6 separate regions of the Homo sapiens genome follow, and all the other regions are linked to region 1. Evidence: promoter capture Hi-C in human tissues and cell types (Jung and others, 2019). All regions are on one chromosome and are shown on one strand. Each heading gives the region's core, a stretch centred on a gene start or on the middle of the fragment in contact. The rest is flanking DNA. Distances are from core to core; before and after follow the strand shown.

Region 1 (3,341 bases), core at 254-2,753:
CCACAGACTCATTACCTTCAATTGGCACCACAGATGGCTCTTTAATCGACGGAGAAATGGCTCGTTTTTCTGCCACTGCAGCCTCAGCCAGGCGCCCCAGGGCACTCAGAGGGGGTGTGGAGGAGAGTTTGGGGCGTTTGGTGAGACCGGTGAGGGCCGAGGCACTGGACAACGCGGCCGCCGCATCCCGCTTGCGCTCAGAAGGCAGGCCGGAAGGGGCTGGCTTCAGCAGGGTGGACGCCGTTTTCGATTCATTGGCCTGACCCTTTGAGCCCAGAGCAATGAAGTCTCCTGGGGGAGGGTGCCCTGCAGAGAAAGGAGAGAGAAAACCGGGCACATTTGCAACACCCAAGATGGAAAAAGACTGACTCTAACCTCCTGTTATGTCAGAGGGGATTAAACAAGGGTCAGAGGAGGCAAGGAAGAAGCCAGAGCTCACTCAGCAGCCTACAGCAGAGCTGGGACCAGCAGGATACGCACAGGTGATGGTGGACAGTCACGTAGCGCTAACCACAAACCAGGCCATCTCTGGTCTATCCAAATTAGTGTGCTTAGTAACCCCCGCCCCGAGTTTCCGCAATAGGTGCTATTACTCTAACTTTACAAGAGAGAAAGGGACACAGAGAGGTTAAGCGACGTGCCCAGCGTCACACAGCAGGCGAGTGGCAAAGTCCGGAGGATCTGAGCCGACAGTTCAGCCGCAGACCCCGTGCTACGCTACACTGTGCTGCCTCCCGCCTCCTGGCTGGGGAGACCTTCCGCTACTGTCGGCCGCCTTGCAGCTCAGCCTGAAACGAGATCACCGGGGTCCCGAAGGAAGTCGCCACTGTCCCAAGCCTCCCAGGGACTCTCAGAGCCGCTGAGGACCGAGAGCAGTGTTTCCAGACCGAATTCCTGGAAACAGCCGCGGCTGCGGAACAACCAAGCCCAACGCAGGATCCGCGGCAGCTGAGATCCCCAAAGACCCCCAAAGACCCCCAAAGACCCCCGGGCTGCAGAGCGAGGAGGGAGACGCACCTGAGGGTTTGGCCGCGGCGCTGGGCCGGCGCACCGTGGTGGGCTTGGCCCGGTTCATCCTGCCCCGTCCCTCGCGGCTCCCGGCGGCTGCGGCGTCACCTGCGGAGGAGCCAGCGTGCGGTCATTCCTTCACTCATTCGCTCGTTCGCTCGCTCATTCGCTCCCTTGCCGCACGGGGCTTGGGCCTGGGACCCGGGGACAGTGGTCCCGCGCCCGCCCGGCGGGGCGATGCTGCAGGAGCTGCAGGGACCCCGCCTCCCAGCCGCCCGGGAGCGGCTCAGTCGGGCGGCAGCAGGCGACGCGGACGCCGGGCTGGAGGCGGCAGAACCAGAAGGGACGGCCCAGAGGCCGGGAGCGGTAGCCGGGAGAACCAGGCGCTCGCCCGGCAATGAGGAAGCGCCCAGGCCGCGGCTCACTTACCTCTGGCCCATCGCGACCGGAGCGCCGCCGCCGCCACCCGGCCACCCCGGAATCGGAAACCGATCTCACCGCCCTCGAGGACCCGACTTCCGGAACAACCGGAAGGAAAACAGTGCGGCGGGAAGCGGGCCCAGAAGGAGGCGCGAGAGGCCCGCGGCGCCGGCCTGATGCCTGCAGCGCCCCATGGCGGCGGGAGGCGGGCTGGCCGGCGCCGCGCGCATGTGGTCCGGTCCAGGTGGGTCGGCGGCGCGGGGCAGGCGCTGGCCTCTCCATTCACAGGTGGTGCTGGCGTTGCGAAGGGACGCACTCCAGGACGCACGGCGGGGAGGAGTGGCGTCAGGGATCCGCGGATGAGTCAAGTGGCAGGTTCTGCACGTCCCGGAGAGCGGGGGCGGCCGGGGCGCAGGCACTGGCGAGGGGGCGCAGCCCGGGGGGCTCCCGGGGAGAGACCCTGTCTCAAATAATAATAATAATAATAATAATAGCTTTATTGAGATAGAACTCGTGTTCCACAAAGTTCACCCTTTTCTTTTTTCTTTTTTTTTTTGGCACGGAGTCTCGCTCTGTCGCCCAGGCTGGAATGCAGTGGCGCGACCTCGGCTTATTGCAACCTCCACCTCCCAGGTTCAAGCGATTCTCCTGCCTCAGTCTCCCGAGTAGCTGGGATTACAGGCGCCCGCCACCATGTCTGGCTAATTTTTTTGTGTTTTTAGTAGAGACGGGGTTTCACCATGTTGGCCAGGCTGGTCTCGAACTCCTGACCTCAGGTGGTCCGCCCGCCTTGGCCTCCCAAAGTGCTGGAATTACTGCGCCCGCCCCGCCCCCACGCCTTTTTTTTTTTTTTTTTAATGGAAACACTGATGGGAACAAAACTCAAAAGACACAAAAGATCATACAGTTGCCAGGTGTGATGCTCATGCCTGTAATCTCAGCACTTTGGGAGACCAAGGCAGGAGGATCGGTTGAGTTCGAGACCAGCCTGAGCAACATAGCAAGACCCCCATCTCTACAAAAAAATAAAAATTAGCTGGGCATGGTGGCATGAACCTCTAATCCCAGCCCTTTGGGAGGCCAAAGTGGGAGTCTGAGACCAGCCTGGGCAACATAGTGAGACCCTATCTCTACAAACAAAAATCAAGAATAAATTAGCCAGGCATGGTGGTGCATGCCTACGGTCCCAGCTACTGAGGAGGCTGAGGTAGGAGGATCTCTTCAGCTTGGGAGGTCAAGGCTGCAGTAAGCTATGATGGTGCCACTACGCTGCAGCCGGCCGACAGAGCGAGACCCTGTCTAAAAAAAAATAAAAATAAAAGGTGGGGGAATCATCCAGTCAAAGGGTCGAAGGTCTCCCCTGACCCCTGAGCAGCTGGTCCCCTCCCCTGGAGTCAGCCTGTGTTCTGATTTGTGCCTGTGTTCCCGGCTTTTCCGTGTGCGTTCAGGCAGCCACCCGTGTGCCTCCCTCTGCCTTGTCACCCTGCAGGTAGCGCACGGCTCCTCTTTTCTGCACCTGGCTTTTGCCACTTAACCACATCTTGGAGATCTGTTCCCAGCAGGGCACTGACTCGAACGCTGCCCCGCCACCGAGGGAGTCCTGAGCACCGCCTGCCCGGTGTGTCCCATCTCCTCATCCAGGGACCGCAAGGCAGAGCTGGTCTCCCTGTGCCCCTGAAGTTGGGTGTGGCCATTTGACTGTGGCCTCAGTGAGGCTCATGGCCCCAGGCTGCAGCCTGAGAACTGCTGTGTGACCCGCCACGGTCTCTTTCCACTCCTGTGGGCACCAGCTGGGTCCCCGCAGGACCCCAAGGGCTCCAGGGCCCTGCACCCTGCGCTGTGTGGGCAGCGAGTCCGGAAGGAGACGTCCGTGGTGCCCATGGGAGGAGAGGCCGGTCAGGCGCGGATCCCTG
Region 2 (3,341 bases), core at 388-2,887, 820 kb after region 1:
TTTTTTGAGACAGAGTCTCACGCTTGTCACCCAGGCTGGAGTGCAATGTTGCGATCTCGGATCTCGGCTCACTGCAACCTCTGCCTCCCAGGTTCAATCAATTCTCCTGCCTCAGCCTCCCGAGTAGCTGGGATTACAGGCGCCCGCCACCATGTCCAGCTAATTTTCGTATTTTTAGTAGAGACAAGCTTTCACCATATTGGCCAAACTGGTCTCGAACTCCTGGCCTCAGGTGATCTGCCGCCTAAGCCTCCCAAAGTGCTGGGATTATAGGCGTGAGCCACTGCGCCCGGCCTCGAATTTCTCAATTCTAAAACATTTTGCTTAGTAGCAAGAACCCAGTTATATCACGATGGTTAATCTGTTTTTTTGATTCACATGTAGTGCTTTTCATTTAGGAAAATGGGAACTAGCTGGGCAAATGGACAGAACTTAGCATGCAGAGCATCGGAGTCAGAATTTAACTACACAGGAGGACGTGCAGAAAGGACCTGCTAAGGACCTTTCAGAAACAGTTACTAAAATGCTGGTGTGGTGGCTCACGCCTATAATTGCAGTGCTTTGGGAGGCCAAGGCAGGAGAAGTGCTTCAGTCCAGGAGGTGGAAGCTACAGTGAGCTATGATTGTGCCACCGTATTCCAGCCTGGGCCACAGAGCAAGACCCCATCACTTAAAAATAAATGCTGGCTGGGCGCCGTGGCTCACACCTGTAATCCCAGCACTTTGGGAGGCCAAGGCGGGTGGATCACCTGAGGTCAGGGGTTCGAGATCAGCCTGGCTAACATGATGAAACCCCATCTCTACTAAAAATACAAAATTAACTTGGTGTGGTGGCGCACGCCTGTAATCCCAGCTACTCGGGAGGCTGAGGCAGGAGAATCGCTTGAACCCAGGAGGTGGATGTTGCAGTGAGCCATAATCGCGCCACTGCACTCCAGCCTGGGTGACAGATTGAGACTCCATCTCAAAAGTAAAATAAAATAGAATAAAATAAAATAAATGCTGTAGGCCAGGTGCTATGGGTCACGCCTGTAATCCCAGCACTTTGGGAGGCTGAAGTATGTGGATCACCTGTGGCCAGGAGTTCAAGACCAGCCTGGGCAACATGGTGAAACCCTGTCTCTACTAAAAATAAAAAAAAAATCCGGGCGTGGTGGTGGGCACCTGTTATCCCAGCTACTCGGGAAGCTGAAGCAAGAGAATTACTTGAACCTGGGAGGCAGAGGTTGCAGTAAGCCGAGATCTTGCTGCTGCACTCCAGCCTGGGCAACAGAACAAGACTCTGTCTCTAAATAAATAAATAAATAAATAAATGGTGTGGGCCAGGCATGGTGGCTTACACCTGTAATCCCAGCACTTTGGGAGGCCAAGGCCAGTGGATCATCTGAGGTCAGGAGTTCTAGACCAGCCCGGCCAATACGGTGAAACCCCATTCCTACTAAAAATACAAAAATTAGCTGGACATGATGGCAGGTGCCTGTAATCCCATCTGCTCGGGAAGCTGAGGCATGAAAATCGCTTGAACTTTGGGGGTGGAGGTTGCAGTGAGCTGAGATTGTGCCACTGCCCTCCAGCCAGGGCGACAGAGTGAGAGTCTGTCTCAAAAAAAAAAAAAAAAAAAACAACCAAACAAACAAAAAAACTAATAATGGGTAATGCATTGTTTAGCGTATCTTAGAAATACTAATAATGGCTAATGAGTTGTTTAGGATAGGCTATATCATGCTGCAGTAACAATCTCAAATCCCAGAGGCTTAAAGTCACAAAGGGGTTCATGTCTGTCACCGGCATGCAGAGACCCAGGATCACAGAGCGGCCACCATCCTGCATTTCTGCCATGTTAACAGAGAGAAAGGATCTGGAGGATGCTGCAGGAGCCGCTAAATGATATGGCCCAGAAGTAAGACTCATTGCTGTTCACAACGCATTGGCCAGGACCAGTGATGTGGTCTCGCTCAACCTCAGAAGGACCAGAAGTGCAGTACTACCACGTGCCTGGCACGCCAGAAGCCAGGACAGCACCAAACACTAACCACGCTAACACGTATTGAATGCGTACTAGGAACTGAGTCTTCTTGGTTTTTTGTTTTTGTTTTGAGACCGACTCTTGCTCTGTTGCCCAGGCTTGAGTGCAGTGGCACCATCTCGGCTCACTGCAACCTCAGGTGGATCACCTGAGATCAAGAGTTCGAGACCAGCCTAGCCAACATGGTAAAACCCCGTCTCTACTAAAAATACAAAAATAAGCTGGGCATGGTGGTGCATGCTTCTAGTCCCAGCTACTTGGGAGGCTGAGGCAGGATAATCGCTTGAACCTGGGAGGCAGAGGTTGCAGTGAGCTGAGATCACGCCACTGTACTCCAGCCTGGGGTGGCAAGGGCAAGACTCCATCTCAAAAAAAAAAGAATTTATAAAAAAAGAATGTATCTCATCCTGGCCGGGGGCAGTGGCTCACGTCTGTAATCATAGCACTTTGAGAGGCCAAGGCAGGAGGGTTACTTGAGCCCAGGAATTCAAAACCAGCCTGGGCAACGTAGTGACACCCCATCTCTATTTTCTTTCTTTCTTTTTTTTTTTTTTTGAGACAGAGTTTCACTGTGTCGTCCAGGCTAGAGTGCAGTGGTGTGATCTTGGCTCACTACAACCTCCACCTCCCAGGTTCAAACAATTCTCCTGCCTCAGCCTCCCAAGTAGCTGGGATTACAGGCATGCGCCACCACGCCTGGCTAATTTTTTGTATTTTAGTAGAGACAGGGTTTCACCATGTTGCCCAGGGTGGTCTCGAACTCCTGAGCTCAGGCAATCTGCCCACCTCAGCCTCCTAAAGTGCTAGGATTACAAGAGTGAGCCACTGTGACTGACCTATTTTTCAAAAAAATAAAAATAAAAATAAACTAAGAATAAAAAAAATTTAGGAAGTGGTATGATCAGTACTTTGCAGGCAACCAAGACCAGAAAAGTTCAACACCCTAAGATCCCAGAGCTGAGATCCTAGCCTAGGCTGCAAGACACCATTCTCACAACCCTTGTGGGCATTTGCCCTGTGTTATAAAGCTACCAATTTCTTCTCAACACTCTTCCTTTTTTTAATTTTTTGAGACAGGGTCTTGCTATCACACCCAGGCCGGAGTGCAGTGGTAGGATCATGGCTCACTGCAGCCTCCGTCTCCTGGGTACAAGAGATCCTCCTTCCTCAGCCTGCTGCGTAGCTGGGACTGCAGGCATTGGCCATGTAGCCAGGCATGGTGGCACACGCCTGTAGTCCCAGCTACAGGCTATTTATTTTTTGTAGAATGGTGTCTCACTGTATTGCCCAGGCCAGTCTCAAGGACAGTCTCAAG
Region 3 (3,341 bases), core at 344-2,843, 800 kb after region 1:
ACGTCACAAAACTGAAGTGTGGTGCTGGAAATACTCACCGCTCAGATGATTTCCTCTGACTCAAATCAGAGTCAAGGGACAAGCGGAGCCAGCCAAGGACATCAGAGCCATCCGTCCCACCAATCCCCCGGAACCCCCTTCTGAAAGGGCCCATTGGACTTCAGCTCATTCCTCAAAACACCTCTCGGGTCTCTCATTTCGGGAATGTTTATCTGAGGGGAGGCCCAGCGATTTGTTCCGGAGTTAAAAAGGAATACTATTTTAGCAAATTGGGGGAATCTTGGAATAACCTACCAAGTAGGAGTTTGGAGTTCCAAAAAGAGTCCTCGTCTCTGTTTAACTAAATGCCACCCATGCCTGGTTTCTTGCGTTTTCTTTTTTAACCCTCCTCCTGGCTGGTGGTTGGTTTGGTCTGAAAGTGACTCCGGTTTTTTTCTAGGGTCTCCTGACATGAAAGTGAAAAGATTCCAAAATATCTGACGGGGCTAAGTCTGTCTTGATCCTCATAGAGGCCAAATGGAGAAGAACCTTCATTGGCCACCAAATAAGGTCCCTCCAAGAAAATTCCAAGCAGTCAGCCAGCATAATGGGCCAAGTGAGATACAATTAAATCCATTTCAGCAAACCTTGATTGATCTATGGCAAGCACAGCAAGGAAGAAGGCGCACTTCCTTCTCCTGGCTGCCTTAAGGGTAGACAACAAGGAACGCAATTAATCAACCAGAAAATGTAACGCCTCAGAAGTCAGCAAGAACAAATTAGGAACTGTGAAAAATGTCACAGGAAGAGAAATATTTAGTCAGTTTTTCCCCCACGGCTAAATTTGCACTGAACACGAAGACCTAGTTTTCCATGCACAGAAGGCTGGACTCTCATCTGGTGTCTTACAGACCCCAAAACTCCAAGATTGGTTAACCAGGATGCTCAGATTATCTTAACGCGTTTAAGGGAACTCAGCCTGTGCCTCACAAAATTCAAGAAGTGATTTGTTTTTTCAGAGCTGACAATTCAAGGAGATTTTATGTTGAACTCAACTGGAAACAGACTGTCTACACCCAGTTGTCCAGAATGAACTAAATATTTTCAGTAGACACGTTGCAAAGCTTTCTCTCTTTTTTTTGGAGACAGAGTCTTGATCTGTTGTCACCTAGGCTGGAGTGCAGTGGCACGATCTTAGCTCACTGTAGCCTCAGTCTCTTGGGCTCAAGCGATCCTCCTGCCTCAGCCTCCCAAGTAACCGGAACTACAGACACGTACCACCATGCCTGGCTAATTTTTTCATTTTTTTGTAGAGAAAAGGTCTCGCTATGTAATGCCCAGGCTGGTCTTTTTTTCTTTTTTTTTTAAATTATTGAGACAGAGTTTCATTCTTGTCACCCAGGCTGGAGTGCAGTGGTGCAATCTTGGCTCCCTGCAACCTCCACCTCCTGGGTTCAAATGATTCTCCTGCCTCAGCCTCCCGAGTAGCTAGGATTATAGGCGCATGCCACCACGCCCAGCTAATTTTTGTATTTTTAGTAGAGACGGGGTTTCACCATGTTGGCCAGGCTGTTCTCGAACTCCTGACCTCAAATGATCTGTCTACCTTGGCCTCCCAAAGTGCTGGGATTACAGGCGTGAGTCACTGTGCCCAGCCCCTGTTGTGGAGCTTAAACCCAACCTCGAACGAGACAAGTAACCATTCTCCCACAAAATGACTTCAACACTCACAACAGGCATTCTGAATTTACATGCTCTTTCATTACGTCCTGTTTCCTAACTTTAAAGTGCATTCCTGTTCTGAAAAGATAAAAAGGACCTAGCACAATTGTCTAGGGTGTTATTTATGAGAAAGGTCTGTGCAACTATCTCCCTCTAAGGAAAACCATCTGAAGAGGGAAAGCTCCATGCCTACGAATGGCTGCTTAACGTGGCCAGACGCAAATCCAACAGAGACCCTCACAGGCCAGGCCACACTGCTCATGTCCCAGCTGCAGCCCCACACCTGGTGTGAATCCCAGCACCACCACCTATTGGCCGTGTGCTCATGGGCATATGAATACAAGGCAGGCCAGCCCCCAAATTCGGGCTTAGCCCAGAGGCTTCTAGGCTTTGTCTAGGAAGGAATTCAAGGCTGAGCCGATGGTGTTAGCAACTTTTATTGAAGCAGCAGCACGCACAGCAGCAACAGAGGTCCTGCTCCTTGCAGAGCAGAACCACCCCCTTACCAGGGCACCCAGAGCAGCAACTTAGAGGCAGTGTTGCACTCATATTTATACCTACTTTTAATTATATGCAAACTAAGGGGTGATTTATGCAGAAATTTCTAGAATGGGGGTAGTAAATTCCGGGTTGTCCAGTCATTGTCATGGAAAAGGGCATCCACGTGTTGCCATGGTGATGGTAAACTGACATGGCCCACTGGCAGGCGTGTCTTATGGGAAGGTGATTCTGCCCTGGACCTATTTCAGCTAGTCCTCAATTTCGACTGCTATCCAGGCCCTGCCTCCAGCGTCGAGTTCTGTCTCCTAACTCATTACCAAACCTCTGTATGCCTCAGTTTCCTCATCTCTGAAGTGAGGCTAGGACTACCTACTTCTCAGCTTGTTAGTTCACACACAGACCCTAAGGAGAATGCAGAGCACATTGTCCAGGCTCTCAAAGAGTTGGGGATCGGCCAGGCGCGGTGGCTCACACCTGTAATCCCAGCACTTTGGGAGGCCGAGGCAGGCAGATCACCAGGTCAAGAGATCGAGACCATCCTGGCTAACACGGTGAAACTTCATCTCTATTAAAAAAAAATACCCTCTCCCCTCTCCCGACGGTCTCCCTCTCCCTCTCTTTCCACGGTCTCCCTCTGATGCCGAGCCGAAGCTGGACTGTACTGCTGCCATCTCGGCTCACTGCAACCTCCCTGCCTGATTCTCCTGCCTCAGCCTGCCGAGTGCCTGCGATTGCAGGCTCGCGCCGCCACGCCTGACTGGTTTTCGTATTTTTTTGGTGGAGACGGGGTTTCGCTGTGTTGGCCAGGCCGGTCTCAGCTCCTAACCGTGAGTGATCCACCAGCCTCGGCCTCCCGAGGTGCCGGGATTGCAGACGGAGTCTAGTTCACTCAGTGCTCAATGGTGCCCAGGCTGGAGTGCAGTGGTGTGATCTCGGCTGGCTACAACCTCCACCTCCCAGCCGCCTGCCTTGGCCTCCCAAAGTGCCGAGATTGCAGCCTCTGCCCGGCCACCACCCCGTCTGGGAAGTGAGGAGCGTCTCTGCCTGGCCGCCCATCGTCTGGGATGTGAGGAGCCCTTCTGCCTGGCTGCCCAGTCTGGAAAGTGAGGAGCGTCTCTGCCCAGCTGCCACCCCATCTA
Region 4 (3,341 bases), core at 299-2,798, 650 kb after region 1:
TGCACGCTCCTCCTTGCCTGAGGTGGGTGTGACCTGGAGTTGTCCTGCCCCAGGCAGGAACAGAGAGCATGGCTTGCCCTGAGGCAGAAGGCTGGCGCCTGAGGCGGATGGTCCCACACAGACCCCAGCCCTCGGGAGCACTGTCACGTGATGGGCTCTCAGCCTGGATACTTGCTGGCCACATCCCTAGGCCCCCAGATCCCTGCCGGCTCTCAGTCCCCATGCGACCAGGCCCCCATCATAGGGAGGACTGAAGCTGCAGGGCTTGCTATTCCAGAGCCCTCCAACCACAGGGGCAGCCGTGCCCAACACCTCCCACGGGCAGAAGCCGCTGGAGGGCACAGGGGCACCAGAAGGAATCCCTCCCTTCGCAGCCTCTTGCGCTGAAAAACCCGCAGTCACCACTTTGGCTAAACCAAGCCTCACGAGCCCTGTCTGGCCATTCTTGCTCATGACCAGGGTTCAGCTTCCACTCAAAAGCACAAGCACAGTGAGCTCGATGACAGCCTTCAAGAACGTCACACGGGACCAGTCTACTCTACTTGCAGAGACAGAGGGAAGGCCAGGACATCCTTAAAGGAAAAGGAGATGGACCCATGGGAGAAAACCTGGGTCTCAGCCCCAGCCCTGACCCCTCCAGGCTCAACTCCCTACCTGCTCGGCTGGGCTTCCTAAGGCTCACTTCCAAAACCCTACGGCACAGGTACAGTGCACTGCTATTACCTGACAATCCCTATGCCGTTAACTTTATGGATGTGGAAGGGACAGGGAGGCTGGAGGCTGTTTTCAGGGTGTGCAATCCAAGCCCATTTTCACACTGGCATTGGGAGGCCGGGAGAGGACATGCACCGTGGAGGCGGTGTCTGGATGTCGCCGGGGACATGAGGAGAAAACACTTCAAGTACAATCATCAACCAGCATGTTAAAAGTTGTGAAATTTTGTATACCCTTTGTTCGGCAGTGTCAATCAAAAGAAAATGTGTTCCCCATATACAAAAATCAACTGGAGATGGATTACAGGCTGAAACCTAAGACCCAAAAATATAAAAAATACTAAAGAAAACAAGGAAAACACTTCAGGACATTGGTCTAGGCAAAGATTTTATAGCTAAGACCTCAAAAGCACAGGCAACAAAAACAAAAATAGACAAATGGGACTACATCAAAGTAAAAAGCTTCTGCCCATCCAAGAAAACAATCAACAGAGTGAAGAGACAGCCTCTTGAATGCAGGAAAATATCTGTCAACTCTTCGGCCAATAAGGGACTAACATCCAAAATACAACTCAAAAGAAACTCAAATAACAACAATTAAAAAAACATAAATAATCCCACGAAAAAGTAGGCAAAGGACACAAAGAGACATTTCTCAAAGGATGACATGCAAATGGCCAACAGGTATATGAAAAAATGGTCAACATCACTAATCATCGGGGGAATTGCAAATCAAAACCACAATGAGATACCACCTTACCTCAGCTTAAAATGGCTAATAAACAGACCAAAAAACACACAGACAGATGCTGGTGAGGATGCAGAGGAAAGGGAACTCTCAGCTGCTGTTGGAAGGAATGTAAATTAGTACCACCGCTATGGAACCCAGTATGGAGATTTCTCAAAAAGCTGAAAACAGAACACCACCACATGATCCAGCAATCCCACCACTGGGTATTTACTCAAAGGAAATCACTGTATCAAAAAGATACCTGCATTCCCATGTTTATCACAGCAAAGATGGCAAAGATACGGAATTAACCTGTGTCTATCGACAGACGAATGGATAAAGAAAATGGGGATGTACACACAGTGGAATGCTATCCGGCCGTAAGAAAGAACAAGAGCTGGGCCGAGCGCGGTGGCTCACGCCTGTAATCCCACCGCTTTGGGAGGCCGAGGCAGGTGGATCAGGAGGTCAGGAGTTCGAGACCAGCCCGGCCAACATGGTGAAACTCCATCTCTACTAAAAATACAAAAATTAGCCAGGCGTGGTGGCACACGCCTGTAATCCCAGCTACTCAGGAGGCTGAGGCAGGAGAATCACTTGAACCAGGGAGTCAGAGGTTGTAGTGAGCCAAGATGACGCCACTGCACTCCAGCCTGGCAACAGAGCAAGACTCCATCTCAAAAAAAAAGAAAGAATGAGAGCCTGTCATTTGTAACAACGTGGCTGGAATGGGAGGTGACCGTGTCAGGTGAAACCACCAGGAACAGAAAGAAACTGCACGTCTTCACTCATGGGAGCTGTGGAAATTCACCTCCTAAAGGCAGAGAGTAGAATGACAGGAACTAGTGGATTGAAAGGTCTGGGTGAGCGGAACCACAGATGAAGAGAGTTGAGTTAATGGGTACGAACATACAGTTAGATGAAAGGTATAAATTCAGTTGTTCCACAGAAGAGGAGGGTGACTAGAGTTAACAGTGTATTGTATAATTCAAAGTAGCTAGAAGAGAACCAGAATTTTTCCCAATACGTGGAAATGATAAATACTCAAAGTGATGGTTACCCCAAATACCCTAAACTTGCCCATTCCACATTCTGTGCACGTAAGAAAATATCACAGGTACTCCATAAATATGTAAAATATTATGTATAAAAATAAATAAATGGTAAATAAATAAATAAAAGAAAATGGGCTCTCTGGGGATGAAGTGTATGAGCTTTAGCTAGTGGAAACAGAATGGGTTTAAGGCAATGGTTTCAGAGCACTCCATATCAGAAAAAGAAAAGATGAAATGGTTTTGCCAACATGTGGACATTTCTGAGGCCACAAAGGAGGTCCCATCAAGAACAAGGTGGAATCCGATCAAACGGGTCAGGAGGTCACCTCCTGAACTCTACAGGAAGCATTCCGGCGCCCTCTTCTCGTATTAACAGCAGCCTGTGGAGAAGGACGGAGGCCACCATCTGGAGTAAAGGACATACCCTTGAACCAAGCGGGGTGGGGAGGAGGAGCCCAGGAGGCTCTGGGCACGCGGAGGAGTCCACAGGGGTGGACTGTGAGCTCTCAGAGAGGCTTGCACGGAGAAGCAGCACGGGAGCCGGAGAGCCGCTCCTCCGGCTTGGGGCTTCTGTGGCCTGGCAAGAAGGCTTGCTACCTGAGGAAGACTGGACCCTCCAAAAGGACGAGGCTAAGAGAGCGAGCAAAGGGGGGTCCTCAGGCCTGACCTGCTGACCTGCCACGCTCTTCCAAGAGGACATCCTGAGGAAACCCAAGACAAGCACCACACCTGGCCACGGTGGCATCCTGCCACCGTGTTGGGATGTTTTTAATTGTGGTAAAATACACTTAACATAAAATATACCATCTTAACCATTTTTAAGTCCCCAGTTCTGTCGTGTTG
Region 5 (3,341 bases), core at 419-2,918, 530 kb after region 1:
GCGCGGGAGCACTGACAAGTGGGGACAGAGCTGGGGTCCAGGCTCCCAGGCATGAGCGCGGGAGCACTGACAAGTCGGGACAGAGCTGGGGTCCAGGCTCCCAGGCATGAGCGCGGGAGCACTGACAAGTCGGGACAGAGCTGGGGTCCAGGCTCCCAGGCATGAGCGCGGGAGCACTGACAAGTCGGGACAGAGCTGGGGTCCAGGCTCCCAGGCATGAGCGCAGGAGCGCTGACAAGTCAGGACAGGGGAGGACGATGCATTCCTGCGCCACCTCCGTGCGGGGAACCAGAGCTCCAGCCTGAATCCCTTAGGGTTGGCTCAGAGTCCTCTCTGGATGAAGTGTCTAGTCTGAGGAGGACAATCCATCCGGTCGTGAGTTTGGACTCTTCCTACACACAAAGGCCAATATATCAAAATTAAATCCCACGGAAGCCCAGGTTGTCACTGGAGAGCATTCCCCAAGCTCCAGGCAGTGGTAAATCAGAGGCCTGAATCCACTGTGGGCCCTCTTTTGAACAGAAGACAAAAGGAAGAGCTTACCCCTAAAGGCAACCCAGCAACCCAGACGTGTGCCTGTCCCACCTCCCCAAGGCCAGGGCTCCTGATCAGAGGTGCTGTAAAGACTCAACAGCCCTGGCAGTACAGGGAGCCCAAGCAGGTGTCGGAAATGACACTGGGTACCTAGAATCCTAAGAACTAAGCTGTCTACAGATGCAGACCAACCAGGTGGGAGGTGGTCAGCTAGATCCCACCAACGCCACTCATACCCACCAACGCGCACGAGGCACGCTCCGCCTCCTGAACACTCCTCCCAGGGCTCCTCCAGCACTCCTCCCACAGCTCCCCCCACAGCACGAGCTTCCGCGTGCCCACCCACGCGCAGAAGACCTCCACCTGCCGCATGCTCCTCCCACAGCTCCCCCCACAGCATGAGCTTCCACGCGCCCACGAAGGTGTCCAGCCATGCAGCAAACGTGGATCAGGCCCAGGTACACATCAGATCTCACCGGTTCCAGTGCCTTCTGCCACGTGGAAATTTCGGCTCCTTCTTTGTCTTCTTAATAGACTCTTCTTTTTTTTTTTTTTTTTTAGAACGGGTTTAGATTTAGAAGAATGGAGAAGATGGTAGAGACTTTTCACATATTCCACACCCAGGTGCCCCACTGTTAACATCTTACACGAGCACAGTGTGCTGGCCACAATAAGGAGCCAGCATGGACCCAGGCACGCCTTGCTCTCCTGGACTACACAGATACTGTGCTTCTTACAAATGGAAGGCTTGTGGCCGTCCTGCCTTCGGCGAGGCACCATGTTCCCAACAGCATGTGCTCCCTACACGGCTCTGTCACATCTGGTAATCCTCATGGCGTTTCAGACATTGTATCACTATTATATCTGTTGTGGTCTGTAATGGGTGGTCTCTGATCTTACTACTGTCATTGATTCTGGGGCGCCACGTCCTGACTGTACTTCCGACATTGCATCACTGTTATGTCTGTTGTGGTCTGTGATCGGCGGTCTCCGATCTTACTGCTGTCATTGATTCTGGGACGCCACACACTATGCTCCTCAGACGGCAAAAGCTTCACCGACCAACGCTGCTTGTGTCTGGCTGCTTCACTGACCAGCCATCTCCCTCCCTCCCTCTCCTTGGGCCTCTCTATTCCCTGGGCGACACAACAGTATTAAAATCAGGCCAATTAATAACCCTACAACAGCCTCTAAGCATTCAAGAGAAAGGAAGAGTCGCATGTCTCTCCTTTAAACCAAAAGCTAGAAAGGATTAAGCTTAGTGAGGAAGGCGTGCCAAAAGCAAAGATAAGCCGAAAGCCAGGCCTCTCGTGCCAAACAGCTCGCCAAGTTGTGAATGCAAAGGGAAAGTTCTTGGAGGAAATTAAAAGTGCTGCTCCACTGAACACACCAACGATAAGAAAGTGAAACTGTCTTATTGCTGATACGGAGAAGTCTGAGTGGTCTGGATAGATCAAACCAGCCCCAACATTCCCTTAAGTCAGAGCAAGTTCCACGAGGCTGAGAGAGGTGGGAAAGCTGCAGAATTCAAGTCTGAAGCTAGCAGAGGTGGGTTCATGAGGTTTACATTAAGAGGCAGTCCCCATCACATAAAAGTACAAGGTGAAGCCGCAAGTGCTGACGGAGAAGCTGCAGCAAGTTCTCCAGAAGATCCAGCTAAGAGCACCAATGAAGGTGGCCACACTAAACACCAGATTTGCAGTGCACATAAAACAGCCTTCTGCTGGAAGATGCCGTCTAGGGCTTTTACAGTTACAGAGGAGAAGTCGATCCCTGCCTTCAAAGTTTCAGAGGACAAGCTGATGCTGTTAGGAGATAATGAAGCTGATGACTTTTTTTTTTTTTTTTTTTTTTTTTTTTGAGACACAGTCTCACTCATTCTGTCACCCAGGCTGGAGCACGGTGGCACAATCTTGGCTCACTGCAACCTCCGCCTTCTGGGTTCAAGCAATTCTCCTGCCTCAGCCTCCCAAGTAGCCGGGATTACAAGTGTGTGCCACCACGCCTCACTAATTTTTTGTATTTTTAGTAGAGACAGGGTTTCACCATGCTGGCCAGGATGGTCTCGAACTCCTGCTGACCTCAAGTGATCCGCCCACCTCGACCTCTCAAAGTGCTGGGATTCCATGCATCAGCTACTGTGCCTGATCTAAGCTTTTTATTTTGATCCAATTACAGATTCACTTGGAGCTATAAAAAATAATACAGAGATCACAAGTAGCATTCATCCAGTTCCTCCCAATAGCAACATCTGGCACAACTACAGCACAGTATCACAACCCGTATGCCGACAATGATACAGTCAAGATACAGCACATTTCATCACCACAAAAACCCCTCGGGTTGTCCGTTCACAGCCACGATTCCTCCTGTGCGTCTCCGTAACTCACGGCAGCCATCCACAGGCTGTCTATCACTTCAGCCTTTTAATAACGTCATGCAAATGGGATCATGCAGCACACGACCTTCAGGGACTGGGCTCTTCGCTCCGCTAAACTCCCTGGAGATCTATTCAAGTATGTTTATCCACAGTGAATTCCTTCTTAGTCCTGAGTATTACTCTGTGTGACGGAGGCACTACCGTTGTTTAACCATCACCACCGAAGGACATCAGAATTCTTTCCAGTTTTTGGCCATTATGCAAAAGCTGCTAGGAAGAGTCCTCTGTCGGGTTTTGTCCGAACCTCGGTTTTATTTCACTGGAATCGACACCCAGGAATGCGACTGCTGGTCATATGGGAGCTGCAGTGCAGTTTTTAAGAAACCCTCGAGCTGGTTCCAGGGTGGCTGCACCCTGTCACTCTCCC
Region 6 (3,341 bases), core at 396-2,895, 530 kb before region 1:
TGCAGCGAGTCGAGATCACACCACTGCACTCCAGCCTGGGTGACAGAGTGAGACTCCATTTCAAAAATAAATAAATAAATGATCCAGCCTGGTCAACATGGGGAAACTCCATCTTTAAAATAAAAAATAAAAAAACAATAATAATTAGCTGGGTGTGGTGTTGCACACCTATAGTCCCAGCTACTCTAGAGGCTGAGACAGGAGAATCGCTTGAACCCGGGAGGAGGAGGTTGCAGTGAGTCGAGATCACACCACTGCACTCCAGCCTGGGCGACACAGTGAGAGTCCATTTCAAAAATAAATAAATAAATAATCCAGCCTGGGCAACATGGGGAAACCCCATCTCTAAAAAAAAAAAAAAAAAAAAAATTAGCTGGGTGTGGCGCTGCACACCTATAGTCCCAGCTACTCTAGAGGATGAGACGGGAGACTCCCCTGAGTCCAGAAAGGAAGGAGGCCGAGGCTTCAGTGAGCTATGATTGCACCACTGCACTCCAGCCTAAGCAACAGAGTGAGACCGTGTCTCAAAACAAAAACAATCAAACCCAAACTTGTTTCCTTCATAAACATGCTGAAAACAACAATGGAAAAAACCCACAACGAGGTAAAGTCAGCCCAGTACGAGGTTAAGGTGCAATGTAGGTGATGGTCACAGGAGAGTTCAGGGTAAAAATTCTTTCATTTTTGCTATTTGAAAATGTCACAATAAAATGTTGGGAAAGAAACAGTAATTCACAGATCGTTTTTCTTTTCTTTTCTTTCTTTTTTTTTTTGAGACGTTGTCTCACTCTGTCGCCCAAGCTGCAGTGCAGTGGCCCGATCTCGGCTCACTGCAACCTCCGTCTCCCGGTTCAAGCGATTCTCCTGCCTCAGCCTCCCGAGTAGCTGGGACTACAGGCGAGCCACATCACACCCAACTAATTTTTGTATTTTTAGTAGAGACGGGGTTTCCCCATGTTGGGCAGGCTGGTCTCGAACTCCTGATCTTAAATGATCCGCCCACCTCGGCCTCCCAAAGGGCTGGGATCACAGGCATGAGCCACCGCGCCCGGCCCACAGATCCTTTTTCGAAGCCTTCATGTCCACGGAGGCAACCCCACCGGAATACGGCCAGAAGCACTGGGAGATCAGCAGCACTTTTGAGCTTTGCAGCAGACATCGCTAGGCACCGTCTAAGCCTCGGCTGCAGCTGCGGGCTTCGTGGCCGCCGAATGCCCCGCTCTGCAAACCCGGGGCACAGACAGCCCGCCGGGTGAGTCAGGGCGGAGCCGGAGACCCGGAAGCCTGACGCAAGGAGTCGGTGTCGCTGCCCTCGTCACGGGGGCCACGGTCCTGCCAGCTCCCACCTGCAGGGTCCATGCCGCAGCAGTGACCCAGGGCTGGGTGGGGCGGAGGGGCGGGCCGCCGTGCCTCAGTTTCCCCGCCTGCACCGCGCTAGATGCCGGCACCCCATAGGGCTCCGCGCTGGGCCGCGACCCAGACCCCCCATCGCAGACCCCTGCCCGCCGACCTTCCGCCGCTCACCTAAGTGATCCAGCGGGAAGCTGCCCTTGTCCGGGGGCCGCGGCTGGAAGCTCTTGGTCCCGAAATTCATGGCGGTCGACATGTTGGCGACTCCGGAGTCTGCGAGCGCCTTGCGAGCGTACGCAGGGCGGCCGGCGGAGCGCCGAGCAGGCACCCCGGGAGCGCCGAGCACGTCGAGCAGGCCCCGTCCCCGCCCCTTGCCCAGGCCCGGCCCCACCCCTTGCCCAGGCCCGGCCCCACCCCCTCGGAGTCAGCAAGCTCCTGAGCCCCGGTGGGCGCTGCCCGGGCTTTCCCGTCCCCTGGGACCCTCACAGCAGTCGGTAGCAGAATCAGCTTTTGGAATTGGTGAGAAACCGAGGCCCAGAAAGGTTCAGCGAATTGCCCGAGGACACATAGCGGTGCCGGCGTCTCTGCATCCCAGGTGTCTGCTGGGGCCTCGGTTTCCCCATCGCACAGAGACCTCATCACGGGGCCCATCCGGGGAGGAAGGCGGCACAGGAGGGACAGGAGAGCCTGTGGACTCGCTGCCTGCGGCTGCTGGAGCCAGGTGACACCACCGAGCAGCTTCAACAACAGGAATGTGCTCTCAGTCCTGGGGTCTGGAGTCCAAGCAGTGGGCAGAGTGGGGGCCCTGGGGACAGTCCCAGCCTCCCAGCTTCTGGGGGCCGCCAGCCTGTGAGGTTCCTTGGCTTGCAGAAGCACCACCTGGTCTCGGCCCCTACGTTCCCATGGTGTCCTGCGCATGTCCAAATTTACTATTTTTATTTATTTATTTGAGACAGGGTATTGCTCTGTTGCCCAGACTAGAGTGCAGTGGCATGATCACGACTCACTGCAGCCTCGACCTCCTGGGCTCAGCGATCCTCTCACCCCAGCCTCCTGAGTAGCTGCGACCACAGGCACACACCACCACACCAGGCTAATTTTTCTATTTTTCGTAGAGATGGAGTCTCCCTATGTTGCCCAGGCTGGTCCTTAACTCCTGGGCTCAGGCAATCCTCCTGCCTCAGCCTCCCTAAATGCCGGGATTATAGGCATGAGCCACCATGCCCAACCTAAATTTCCTCTTTTTATAAGGATAGCAGTCATGTTGGGTTAGGGGCCGTCCCAATAACTTCATCTTAACTAATTATATCAGCAGCAACCCTATTTCTTTGTTTTGTTTTTTAAAACGGAGTCTCTCTCTTGTTGCCCAGGCTGGAGTACAGTGGCTCGATCCTGGCTCATTGCAACCTCCACCTCCCAGGTTAAAGCAATTCTCCTGCCTCAGCCTCCCGAGTAGCTGGGATTACAGGCGCCACCAACACACCCAGCTAAGCTAATATATTTTTTTTCAACACAGAGTCTCACTTTGTAACCTAGACGGGCGTGCAGTGGTACGATCTCGGCTCACCGCAACCTCCACTTCCCGAGTTCAAGAGATTCTCCTGCCTCAGCCTCCAGAGTAGCTGGGATTACAGGCATGCGCCACCACACCCGGCTAATTTTTTGTACTTTTCGTAGAGACGGGGTTTCACCATGTTGCCCAGGCTGGTCTCGAACTCCTGACCTTAAGTGATCCGCCCACTTCAGCCTCCCAAAGGGCTGGGATGACAGGCGTGAGCCGCCGCACCTGGCACCTATTTCCAAAGCAAAGGTCACATCCTAAGGTCCTAGTGGCTTCACCATACGAATGGGGGTGGAGGGTAGTTACAGCTCAACCTAGGGCAGAATGAAAGTGTACTGTAAGCGGTAAGGCCCGGCCTTTGCGTGTCGATGTTGTCATGGCAACAGCAGTCGTGGGAAAGGGCTCAGTGAAGACCCCAGCGTCCACCCGC

Evidence for each region. The method cuts DNA at HindIII sites, captures the fragments that hold promoters and counts their contacts. A contact is called where the count stands out against the background at its distance.
Region 2: a contact is called between a fragment that was not itself captured here and the fragment with the promoter of INTS1 in region 1, in 2 of the 25 tissues and cell types used here (lymphoblastoid cells and spleen).
Region 3: a contact is called between a fragment that was not itself captured here and the fragment with the promoter of INTS1 in region 1, in 2 of the 25 tissues and cell types used here (dorsolateral prefrontal cortex and spleen).
Region 4: a fragment that was not itself captured here is called in contact with the fragment with the promoter of INTS1 in region 1 in 1 of the 25 tissues and cell types used here (dorsolateral prefrontal cortex).
Region 5: a fragment that was not itself captured here is called in contact with the fragment with the promoter of INTS1 in region 1 in 4 of the 25 tissues and cell types used here (H1 embryonic stem cells, heart left ventricle, lymphoblastoid cells and 1 more).
Region 6: a contact is called between the fragment with the promoter of COX19 here and the fragment with the promoter of INTS1 in region 1, in 4 of the 25 tissues and cell types used here (H1 embryonic stem cells, hippocampus, lymphoblastoid cells and 1 more).

What each region holds. Positions count from the first base shown.
Region 1 is chr7:1,502,886-1,506,226 of GRCh38, forward strand. It overlaps INTS1 (integrator complex subunit 1), which reads right to left and starts at 1,504. Exons shown (of 48, transcript NM_001080453.3): 1 at 1,438-1,504; 2 at 1,018-1,116; 3 at 16-306. The coding sequence starts at 1,075. RefSeq lists a silencer at 1,150-1,709 and enhancers at 2,596-3,192, 2,818-3,007, 3,193-3,341. The HindIII fragment of the contact is 17,901 bases long and covers 1-3,341 here.
Region 2 is chr7:2,321,728-2,325,068 of GRCh38, forward strand. It overlaps a transcript of SNX8 not described here. Among named protein-coding and RNA genes, the nearest start is that of SNX8, 9.0 kb to the left of the region's middle. The HindIII fragment of the contact is 5,349 bases long and covers 1-3,341 here.
Region 3 is chr7:2,299,307-2,302,647 of GRCh38, forward strand. The region is part of intron 1 of SNX8 (sorting nexin 8); the gene reads right to left. Among named protein-coding and RNA genes, the nearest start is that of SNX8, 13 kb to the right of the region's middle. RefSeq lists enhancers at 1,888-1,937, 1,938-2,438, 2,941-3,341. The HindIII fragment of the contact is 3,285 bases long and covers 1-3,236 here.
Region 4 is chr7:2,152,033-2,155,373 of GRCh38, forward strand. The region is part of intron 10 of MAD1L1 (mitotic arrest deficient 1 like 1); the gene reads right to left. Among named protein-coding and RNA genes, the nearest start is that of SNORA114, 65 kb to the left of the region's middle. The HindIII fragment of the contact is 4,469 bases long and covers 1-3,341 here.
Region 5 is chr7:2,036,133-2,039,473 of GRCh38, forward strand. The region is part of intron 12 of MAD1L1 (mitotic arrest deficient 1 like 1); the gene reads right to left. Among named protein-coding and RNA genes, the nearest start is that of SNORA114, 51 kb to the right of the region's middle. The HindIII fragment of the contact is 3,001 bases long and covers 169-3,169 here.
Region 6 is chr7:973,904-977,244 of GRCh38, forward strand. COX19 (cytochrome c oxidase assembly factor COX19) reads right to left here and starts at 1,646. Exons shown (of 3, transcript NM_001031617.3): 1 at 1,525-1,646. The coding sequence starts at 1,606. RefSeq lists enhancers at 869-1,751, 1,051-1,120, 1,752-2,632 and silencers at 1,361-1,520, 1,541-1,820. The HindIII fragment of the contact is 7,753 bases long and covers 1-3,341 here.